Regions from separate parts of the Homo sapiens genome. Here region 2 is linked to region 1. The links are contacts of gene promoters, found by promoter capture Hi-C in human tissues and cell types (Jung and others, 2019). All regions are on one chromosome and are shown on one strand. The core of a region is centred on a gene start or on the middle of the fragment in contact, and the rest is flanking DNA. Distances in the headings are between cores, read along the strand shown.

Region 1 (4,671 bases), core at 868-3,367:
AAATAAATCAGCTGGGACATGTGTTGTTTTAAGACATATTAGTAGAGATGTCCCTTTAGTGTTGCAGCTGTTAGTCATTGGAAACTAGTGTGGGCATCCCAAGCAGGTGAGGTATAAGTCCTACAAGTGAAATCTCTGAGAATCTTAAGTACTAATGGGAAGGAAAAAGGAAAAAGAATCAGAGCCAAGTTGGCACCAAAAGTTCCATCTGAGAAAAGCAACAACACAGAGCAGTGAATGTAGGCCATGGTAAAGACTGCAAAGACCAAGAACCCCAAGAAGGAGCTAAAAGATAATGCAGCAATTCCGCTTCTGGGTAAATACCAAAAAAATGCGAGCAGGGTCTTGAAGAGATATTTGTACATCCATGTTCATAGCAGTATCATTCACAATGGCTGAAATGTGGAAGCAACCCAGGTGTCCACTGACAGATGAACAGATAAGCAAAATGTGGTGAATAATACAATGGATTATTCAGCCTTAAAAAGGAAAGAAATTCTGATATATGCAACAAGATGCATGAGCCTTGAGGACATTATGCTACATGAAATAAGCCAGACACACAAAAACTATATGATTCCATTTATCTAAGGTCGCCAGAAAAGTCAAAATCACAGAGACAAATTAGAATGGCAGTTGCCATGGGCTGGGGGAGAAGGGAATGTGTTTAATAGACACGAATTTGATAAAAAGGAGTTCTGGAGACGATTGACAGTGATGGCTGCACAACACTATCAATCTATTTCATATCAATGCACTCACTACACGCTTAAAGATAGTGAAGATAAATTTTGTGTACCATTTTACCACAATTAAAAATATTTTTTTAAAAGAACTCAAAGAAGCAGAAAGTTTCAACAAAATAACATTTTTTTTTTTTTACATCCAGCAAGTCCTTGGCAAAGAACTCTCATCAAGAACCAGCTGCACTGAAGCAGGGAAAACAGAATCCAAACGGCAGATTCCATCAGATTTTGAGACAAGATGACCATAGATACCGACCATGTAGGGTCCTCCTTCTTTCGTGCCTGAGTCACCCCAATCCCTCCCACGAATGGTCTGGAAGTGTCTGTGTTACTTCTAACACGTTCCAGCAATTAAAGCGCCCCAGAAACAAGTAAAAGCCTGTAAGCCCTACAGATCCCATGCTTCATTTGCATCTTCCGTGTGGAATCCTTTTGTACCACTAGTGTCCAACTAAAAAGCGTTAAACCTGGCTTTCAGTTCTAGCTGGTTGTGATATAACCTCTTGGTACCTCAGTGACTTCACCCATTAAAAACAAACAAAAAAAAGTATATCACTATCTCTCATACAGAATTGTTGGGAAGCCCCGCAAGAAAATCAAAATATGGCTCTCAAGATGCGGCACCCAAGCTCCCAGAGTCAGAATCACTGGGTGGGAAGTGTTGGTCTAAAATATAAATACCGAGGCCTCAATCTACTAATTCAGAACATCTTGGCATGAAGCTTGGAAATCTGCACTACTTCACAGTCTCCTTAAAATTTTTACACGACAGAAATTTGAAAAACACTGAGTAGAGAACTATATTCTAGAATGGTATAAGCTCTTAAAGAGCTAATGTTGGTTCCTCAAAGGTAGAGTCCACGGCCAGATTCCATTATAGGAGACCAAGCCCGGACAGCAGACCCCGGGCCCTCCCCACCCCGCCCCGCCTCTGACTCGGACACCAGCCTTCTCAGACCCCGGGCACTCGGCCACCCCGCCCTGCCCCTACCCTTGGCCTCCTCCACCCTCCCCTCATCCCTCCGCCGACCCCAGGCCCACTCCGACTCGGACCCCCACCCCAGTCCTCTCCGCCCGACCGCCACGGCCCACCAGCCTGTGCCGCTCACCTGGATCTCTGGAAAAAGCTGAAGGAAGACACATCGTATGCGGCTTTGAGCAGCACCACCTTGGCCTCGCCTTTGTAGAGGACGCTGAGGCTGTACAGCTTCATGGCTCCGCGCCCTCAGGCCGCCCGCCTGCCCAGCTGCGGGACCCGTTCTCAGGGAGCAGCGCGGCCGCCGCCCCTCGGGACCGCCGCCGCCTACCGGCCTCTCAGCAGCCGGCTGCTGACGGGGCCACCGCCGGCTTCCTCCTCCTGGCTCGCAATCCACTTCCGGATCCGGTCAGCCTGGTTGAGGGTTCTCATACTCCGGATGCAGAAATGTGAGCCCGGAAGTACAATGCAGCGAGGGGCGGGATGCCACGCCTCGCGTAAGCTTGGCCCCTCCCTGCTCGCCAGGTGGAGTCGGGCGCGCGGCGGGATACCGTACTGTCTTGTGCTGGGTGGTGCTGGGCCTCCCACAGCGGCCTGAACCCTTCTTTTTTTTTTTTTTCTTTTCTTTCTTTTTTTAAAGTAAGCATTTTTTTTATTATTATACTTTAAGTTTTAGGGTACATGTGCACAACGTGCAGGTTTGTTACATATGTATACATGTGCCATGTTGGTGTGCTGCACCCATTAACTCGTCATTTAGCATTAAGTATATCTCCTAATGCTATCCCTCCCCCCTCCCCCCACCCCACAACAGTCCCCGGTGTGTGATGTTCGCCTTCCTGTGTCCATGTGTTCTTATTGTTCAATTCCCACCTATGAGTGAGAACATGCGGTGTTTGGTTTTTTGTCCTTGCAATAGTTTGCTGAGAATGATGGTTTCCAGCTTCATCCATGTCCCTACAAAGGACATGAACTCATCATTTTTTATGGCTGCATAGTATTCCATGGTGTATATGTGCCACATTTTAGGAGGAGCTTGTACCATTCCTTCTGAAACTATTCCAATCAAAAGAAAAAGAGAGAATCCTCCCTAACTCATTTTATGAGGCCAGCATCATCCTGATACCAAAGGGTGGCAGAGAGAGACACAACAAAAAAAGAATTTTAGACCAATATCCTTGATGAACATTGAAGCAAAAATCCTCAGTAAAATACTGGCAAACCGAATCCAGCAACACATCAAAAAGCTTATCCACCATGATCAAGTGGGCTTCATCCCTGGGATGCAAGGCTGGTTCAACATACGAAAATCAGTAAACGTAATCCAGCATATAAACAGAACCAAAGACAAAAACCACATGATTATCTCAATAGATGCAGAAAAGGCCTTTGACAAAATTCAACAACCCTCATGCTAAAAACTCTCAATAAATTAGGTATTGATGGGACGTATCTCAAAATAATAAGAGCTATCTATGACAAACCCACAGCCAATATCATACTGAATGGACAAAAACTGGAAGCATTCCCTTTGAAAACTGGCACAAGACTGGGATGCCCTCTCTCACCACTCCTTTTCAACATAGTGTTGGAAGTTCTGGCCAGGGCAATCAGGTAGGAGAAGGAAATAAAGGGTATTCAATTAAGAAAAGAGGAAGTCAAATTGTCCCTGTTTGCAGATGACATGATTGTATATCTAGAAAACCCCATCGTCTCAGCCCAAAATCTCCTTAAGCTGATAAGCAACTTCAGCAAAGTCTCAGGATACAAAATCAATGTGCAAAAATCACAAGCAGTCTTATACACCAATAACAGACAGAGAGCCAAATCATGAGTGAACTCCCATTCACAATTGCTTCAAAGAGAATAAAATACCTAGGAATCCAACTTACAAGGGATGTGAAGGACCTCTTCAAGGAGAACTACAAACGACTGCTCAATGAAATAAAAGAGGATACAAACAAATGGAAGAACATTCCATGCTCATGGGTAGGAAGAATCAGTATCGTGAAAATGGCCATACTGCCCAAGGTAATTTATAGATTCAATGCCATCCCTATCAAGCTACCAATGACTTTCTTCACAGAATTGGAAAAAACTAAAGTTCATATGGAACCAAAAAAGAGCCCGCATTGCCAAGTCAATCCTAAGCCAAAAGAACAAAGCTGGAGGCATCACACTACCTGACTTCTAACTATACTACAAGGCTACAGTAACCAAAACAGCATGCTACTGGTACCAAAACAGAGATATAGAGCAATGGAACAGAACAGAGCCCTCAGAAATAATGCCGCATATCTACAAGCATCTGATCTTTGACAAACCTGACAAAAACAAGCAATGGGGAAAGGATTCCCTATTTAATAAATGGTGCTGGGAAAACTGGCTAGCCATATGTAGAAAGCTGAAACTGGATCCCTTCCTTACACCTTATACAAAAATTAATTCAAGATGGATTAAAGACTTACATGTTAGACCTAAAACCATAAAAACCCTAGAAGAAAACCTAGGCAATACCATTCAGGACATAGGCATGGGCAAGGACTTCATGTCTAAAACACCAAAAGCAATGGCAACAAAAGCCAAAATTGACAAATGGGATCTAATTAAACTAAAGAGCTTCTGCACAGCAAAAGAAACTACCATCAGAGTGAACAGGCAACCTACAGAATGGGAGAAAATTTTTGCAACCTACTCATCTGACAAAGGGCTAATATCCAGAATCTACAATGAACTCAAACAAATTTACAAGAAAAAAACAAACAACCCCATCAACAAATGGGCGAAGGATATGAACAGACACTTCTCAAAAGAAGACATTTATGTAGCCAAAAAACACATGAAAAAATGCTCATCATCACTGGCCATCAGAGAAATGCAAATCAAAACCACAATGAGATACCATCTCACACCAGTTAGAATGGTGATCATTAAAAAGTCAGGAAACAA
Region 2 (4,671 bases), core at 1,170-3,669, 600 kb before region 1:
CCATAAGGCCCTGCAGGCAGTTGGGTTAAGAAACATGAAACCCAAAGACATGCCAAAAATCCAATACTAGTCATAACTTAAATAGTGAGACTTCTAGAAAGTGTCTCAAACTTTTAGTACATCACACCTACTTCTGAAAAGATATATGGCTTCTTAAATGTCTATCACCACCCCCCAACTTGAGCTAGAACTTACAAGGCAAAATTCTAAGGAACAGCAAGCACTGCTGCACGATCAGGGGTAAACAGCTGTTCTTTTAGTCACTTGTAATGAAAATGCTACTACCTCCAATCTGTTAACATAGCTTTATGGATTAGATGAGCAGTCACTTCTTGGTATCCAGGCCCCTTACCTAGTAGTGGGGTAAAAAATAAAGATTGGTTTCTAGTATATCTGGTTTTGAACCTTTCTTGAATGTATAATACGTTATGGCTAGAGAGGTAGCTTAAATACCATAAACATTTACAAGCCCTTTCATAAAAACAGCTTGTTTAAAAGTAGCATTTTATAAGCTATTTCACAGATGTGACTGAATTAACTACTAGTATCCGTGTGCACTTCTCTTATAGCAATGTACTTTTTTTTTTTTGAGACAAGAGTCTCACTGTCACCAGGCTGGAGTGCAGTGGCACGATCTCGGCTCACTGCAGCCTCCGCCTCCGGGGTTCAAGCGATTCTCCTGCCTCAGCCTCTAGAGTAGCTGAGATTACAGGCAAGCGCCACCACGCCCAGCTAATTTTTGTATTTTTAATAGAGGTGGGGTTTCACCATGTTGGCCAGGACGGTCTCAATCTCCTGACTTCGTGATCCGCCCGCCTGGCCAACGTACTTATTTTTTAGTTTTTAGGTATTTGTACCTAGAATGTATGGTCTTTCTAAAACATCAGCTTTTCTCAGAGCTTTATAGTCGGTACGTTTAAGTTCCTATGGCTTCCCTTTCAGACTTTCGCTAAAGCCAAAGCCCTCATTGGCAGTTACCCCTCCATTCTCATCAAGACCTGCAAGTCCTTTCTCATTTCCCTGAAGCTCTTTGGGTAACCTGATGCCCAACATTAGGTCAGGCCAAGTTTCCACGAAAGCCCTTGTCACTTACCAGCTTTGACTACACTCATAGGTGGGGTGGGGTGTGGATTAACATGCAGTGTTTCAGTGCCTATGTGCCAGGCACTATGGACAGGGTAGGCAACAAGGAAATCGCTCTGTCCTCACGAAGACTGCATGAGGATCAATCTATTTTCGGAATAAGATCCCAAACTAGCCATTGGTGGCCTTTTGAGATGTGATTTAAAGGAATAAAACCACTAACATCCTATTTCGCTACTCCCTAAGGTCTATCCATGTTAACTGGAACGGAATCGTACTCAATATTTAACTTTGAAGACACGCGCCAAGTTTAGATACTATGCTATAATTACAACTGATCTTTAAGAACTCATTTAACGCTCTCAAAACTAATTAGGTAATCACTGGTAATCCACCTTGGTCGGAAGAGGCCTGCCTTGTGGCCAGTCGCAACTTGCTTGCTAGGCAGAGGGACAATCGGGAGGGGCTCAAGAGCGCCTCCCCCGCCAGCGCCGTCACTGCAGTGGAAGGCGGTCCTTGGGCACCAGCAAAGGCAAGGCCCATTTTCACATTTCCGCTTGGGGGTGGGGGACACGGAGGGACGTTTGGGGCACATGTATAAATATTCCTACTTTATCCAAATGGAAGATATTTCAAGTGGCAACCCGTCACATCCCAGCAAGTCTCCTTTTATAACATGGCCTCCCGGGATCTACAGGACCGAGCATGGACGGGCTCACACCGCGCCTCGATCCTTGAGAAAAACCCTCAAGCAAACAGCTTCCCAGCTCAGGATGTAAAGCACCCATGCCTGCCAGGGGACAGCTTCCCAGGAAGGCGGTCGCAAGCCCCCGCGAGCGTGCTTCTGGCTCCGGTCTGCGGCGCCCAGGCCAAGCTAGGGCGGAGCCCAACGACTCTCAAGGCGCGGACCTGAGCGCGGCCGCCGAGCACGTGCGTCGGACAGGACAGGGCGCGGCCACATGAGGCGGGCGGGCGGACGCGGGCCCCCTCCCCCAACGGCCTCGCAGCCGCCCCGCCTGCCTTTGTCCGCCGCCGTCCCGGCCTCCTCCCCGCGACTCGCGGACCTCCCAAAATGGCCCCTCGTCAGGAAATGGCGCCGCAGCCCGCCCGCGCTCGCCCCTCAAGCAGGGTCGCCCCGCGCCCGGGCCTTTGGGGCGCTACCACCCACCCCGACCCCGGCCCACTTTCTGGGCCCCATTCCCGCACGCCGCCGCCCGCCCGACCTCAAAGGAGACGCGGCCCAAGGGCTCGCCGTCGACGGCAATGTCGAAGAACACGGTGGGGTTGACCATGGCTAATAGTACACGGTTTTCCTCGGCGGTGGCGTCTGCAAAACGGCACGAGCCTGGCCTCCCGCCCCTTTTATACCACGTTCGGCCCCGCCCGCAACCCGGTCTCGCGCCTCCGTCCCGGCCAATCGGGTCTGCGACTTCGCCAGAGTGACAGTGCATCTGGCCTATAGACGGAAGCCGGCGCTGATGGGGACGACACATGAGGCGCGCGTGCGCGCTAACGCGCGGAGGCAGGTTCCCGCCTGCGGGCTCCGTCGCGGTGGCTGCGGCATGGGACTCGGGGCGGGGCGGCAGTACGGGACGCGGGGCACGGGGGAGGGTCAGTGCGGAACGGGGGTGGGCAGCATGGCGCGCGCACGCGGGAGACGGAAGCGCGGCGGCTCTTCGGCCGTTGTCAAGCGATGAGGCGCGTCTCCCCATTGCACAGAGGGGGCAACTGAGGCGAACGCAGGCCTCAAGGTCGCGCCGCCAGTCAAGGTCGACTGGGGTCCCGCGCCCGGACCCTACGCCTCCGCGAGCGGAAATGGGGATGGCGCGTCCCCGAGACCTAGGAGCAGCCTTGCGTCCGCATTCCGCGCGGGCAAACACCACGTCGCGTCCTACCAGGCAATGTCAGGAAGGAGGTTGCCTTTGAGCATCGCTGTTTTCTCTAACGAGGTGGGACAGGAGCAGTCTCCGGTTTTGAGAGATTATGAAATGCTTTCAAAATGCTCTACTTTCCGAAAATATCTTACACTCTGCTTGAATCTTCTTCAGGAGGAAGCCATTAAAACAGGAGCCTGGCCAGGCTCTTACCTGTGAAGATGCATTATGCACATTTTGCCCTCTTACTCTTTTTGAATCTCTGCTCCTGGTCTTTCCCTGCCCCCGCCCCGCCCAGCTCCTACCGCCCCCGCCTCGGGGCTGAATTGTGCTTTGATTTTTGGGTGAAAGATAAGTCACAATTTAAAAGCGAATTTCTTCAGGCAAAGACATTAATAATACTTTAATTAAAATGCACTTGTAGGCCAGGCGCGGTGGCTCATACCTGGCGCTTTAGGAGGCGCGGAGGCCAAGGCCGGGGAGGATCGCTTCATCTTAGGAGTTCGACACCGGCCACCAGCCTGGGCATCTTAGAGAGACGCCGTCTCTACAAAAAAATAAATAAAAATAAAAATTAGCTGGGCGTCGAGGCGCTCGCTACTCAGGAGGCTGGGCGGGGAGGATTGCTTGAGCCCGGAGGTCGAGGCTGTAGTGGGCGGTGATCGCATCACTGCATTCCAGCCGGGACGACAGAGTGTGACCCTCTCTCAAAAAATAGGCCGGGTGCGGTGGATCACGCCTGTAATTCCAGCACTTTGGGAGGCCGAGGCGGGAGGATCACCTGAGGTCAGGAGTTCAAGACCAGCCTGGACAACATGGTGAAACCCCATCTCTACGAAAAATACAAAATTAGCTGGGCATGGTGGTGCGCACCTGTAGTCCCAGCTACCCCCTCGGGAGGCTGAGGCAGGAGAATCGCTGGAACCCAGGAGGTGGAGGTTGCAGCGAGCAGAGATGGCGCCACTGCACTCCAGCCTGAGAGACAGAGACTCCGTCTCAAATAAATAAACAAAAATATAAAATAAAATGCACTTATGTGACTGGTGTTTTGTTAAGAAAACCTTACAAGGGAATTCATATATCCTGGGCTGTCACTTAAGTTGCAATATTAAGGATATTATTTAATGTTTCTTTTTGTTTTTTTGAGACAAGGTCTCACTCTCACCTAGGCTGGAAGTGCAGTGGTGTGTTATCGGCTCACTGCAACCTCCCCTTCCCGTGCTCGAGCAAGCGTCCCACCTTAGCCTCCCAAGTAGCTGGGACTACAGGCATGCACCCACACCCAGCTCATTTTGTGTGTGTGTGTTTTGTAAAGATGGGGTTTCGCCACATCGCCCAGGCTGGTCTCAAACTCCTGGACTCAAGCGATCCACCCGCCTCAGCCTCCCAAAAGTGCTGGGATTATAGGCGTGAGCTGCTGCACCTGGACGTTGTTTAATGTTTCTAAAACTCAGTTTCTTCATCTGCACAACCAGGATAGGGTTGTGGTGAGACAAAAATGATAATTCATCTGATAGATGAAGTACAGTTTCTGGCCTCTTGCCATTGTTAATAACCATGAGCCAACGTGTTAGGAATTTATTTATTTGAGATAGGGTCTCACTCTGTTGGTTAGTCTGGAGTGCAGTGGTGCAATCCTAGCTCACTGTAACCTCGAACTCTTGGACTGAAGCATTCCTCCCTCCTCAACCTCCCAAATGTCTGGGACTAAAGG

Evidence for each region. The method cuts DNA at HindIII sites, captures the fragments that hold promoters and counts their contacts. A contact is called where the count stands out against the background at its distance.
Region 2: a contact is called between the fragment with the promoter of PPIA here and the fragment with the promoter of YKT6 in region 1, in 1 of the 25 tissues and cell types used here (spleen).

Annotation. Positions count from the first base shown.
Region 1 is chr7:44,198,424-44,203,094 of GRCh38, reverse strand. It overlaps YKT6 (YKT6 vesicular SNARE protein), which reads right to left and starts at 2,117. Exons shown (of 7, transcript NM_006555.4): 1 at 1,856-2,117. The coding sequence starts at 1,959. RefSeq lists a silencer at 1,941-2,010. The HindIII fragment of the contact is 4,070 bases long and covers 1-2,597 here.
Region 2 is chr7:44,794,429-44,799,099 of GRCh38, reverse strand. PPIA (peptidylprolyl isomerase A) reads right to left here and starts at 2,419. Exons shown (of 5, transcript NM_021130.5): 1 at 2,307-2,419. The coding sequence starts at 2,375. It overlaps LOC105375259 (a long non-coding RNA gene), which reads left to right and starts at 2,570. Exons shown (of 2, transcript XR_007060300.1): 1 at 2,570-3,032; 2 at 3,676-3,984. RefSeq lists silencers at 1,949-2,298, 2,319-2,588, 2,679-2,878. The HindIII fragment of the contact is 11,905 bases long and covers 1-4,671 here.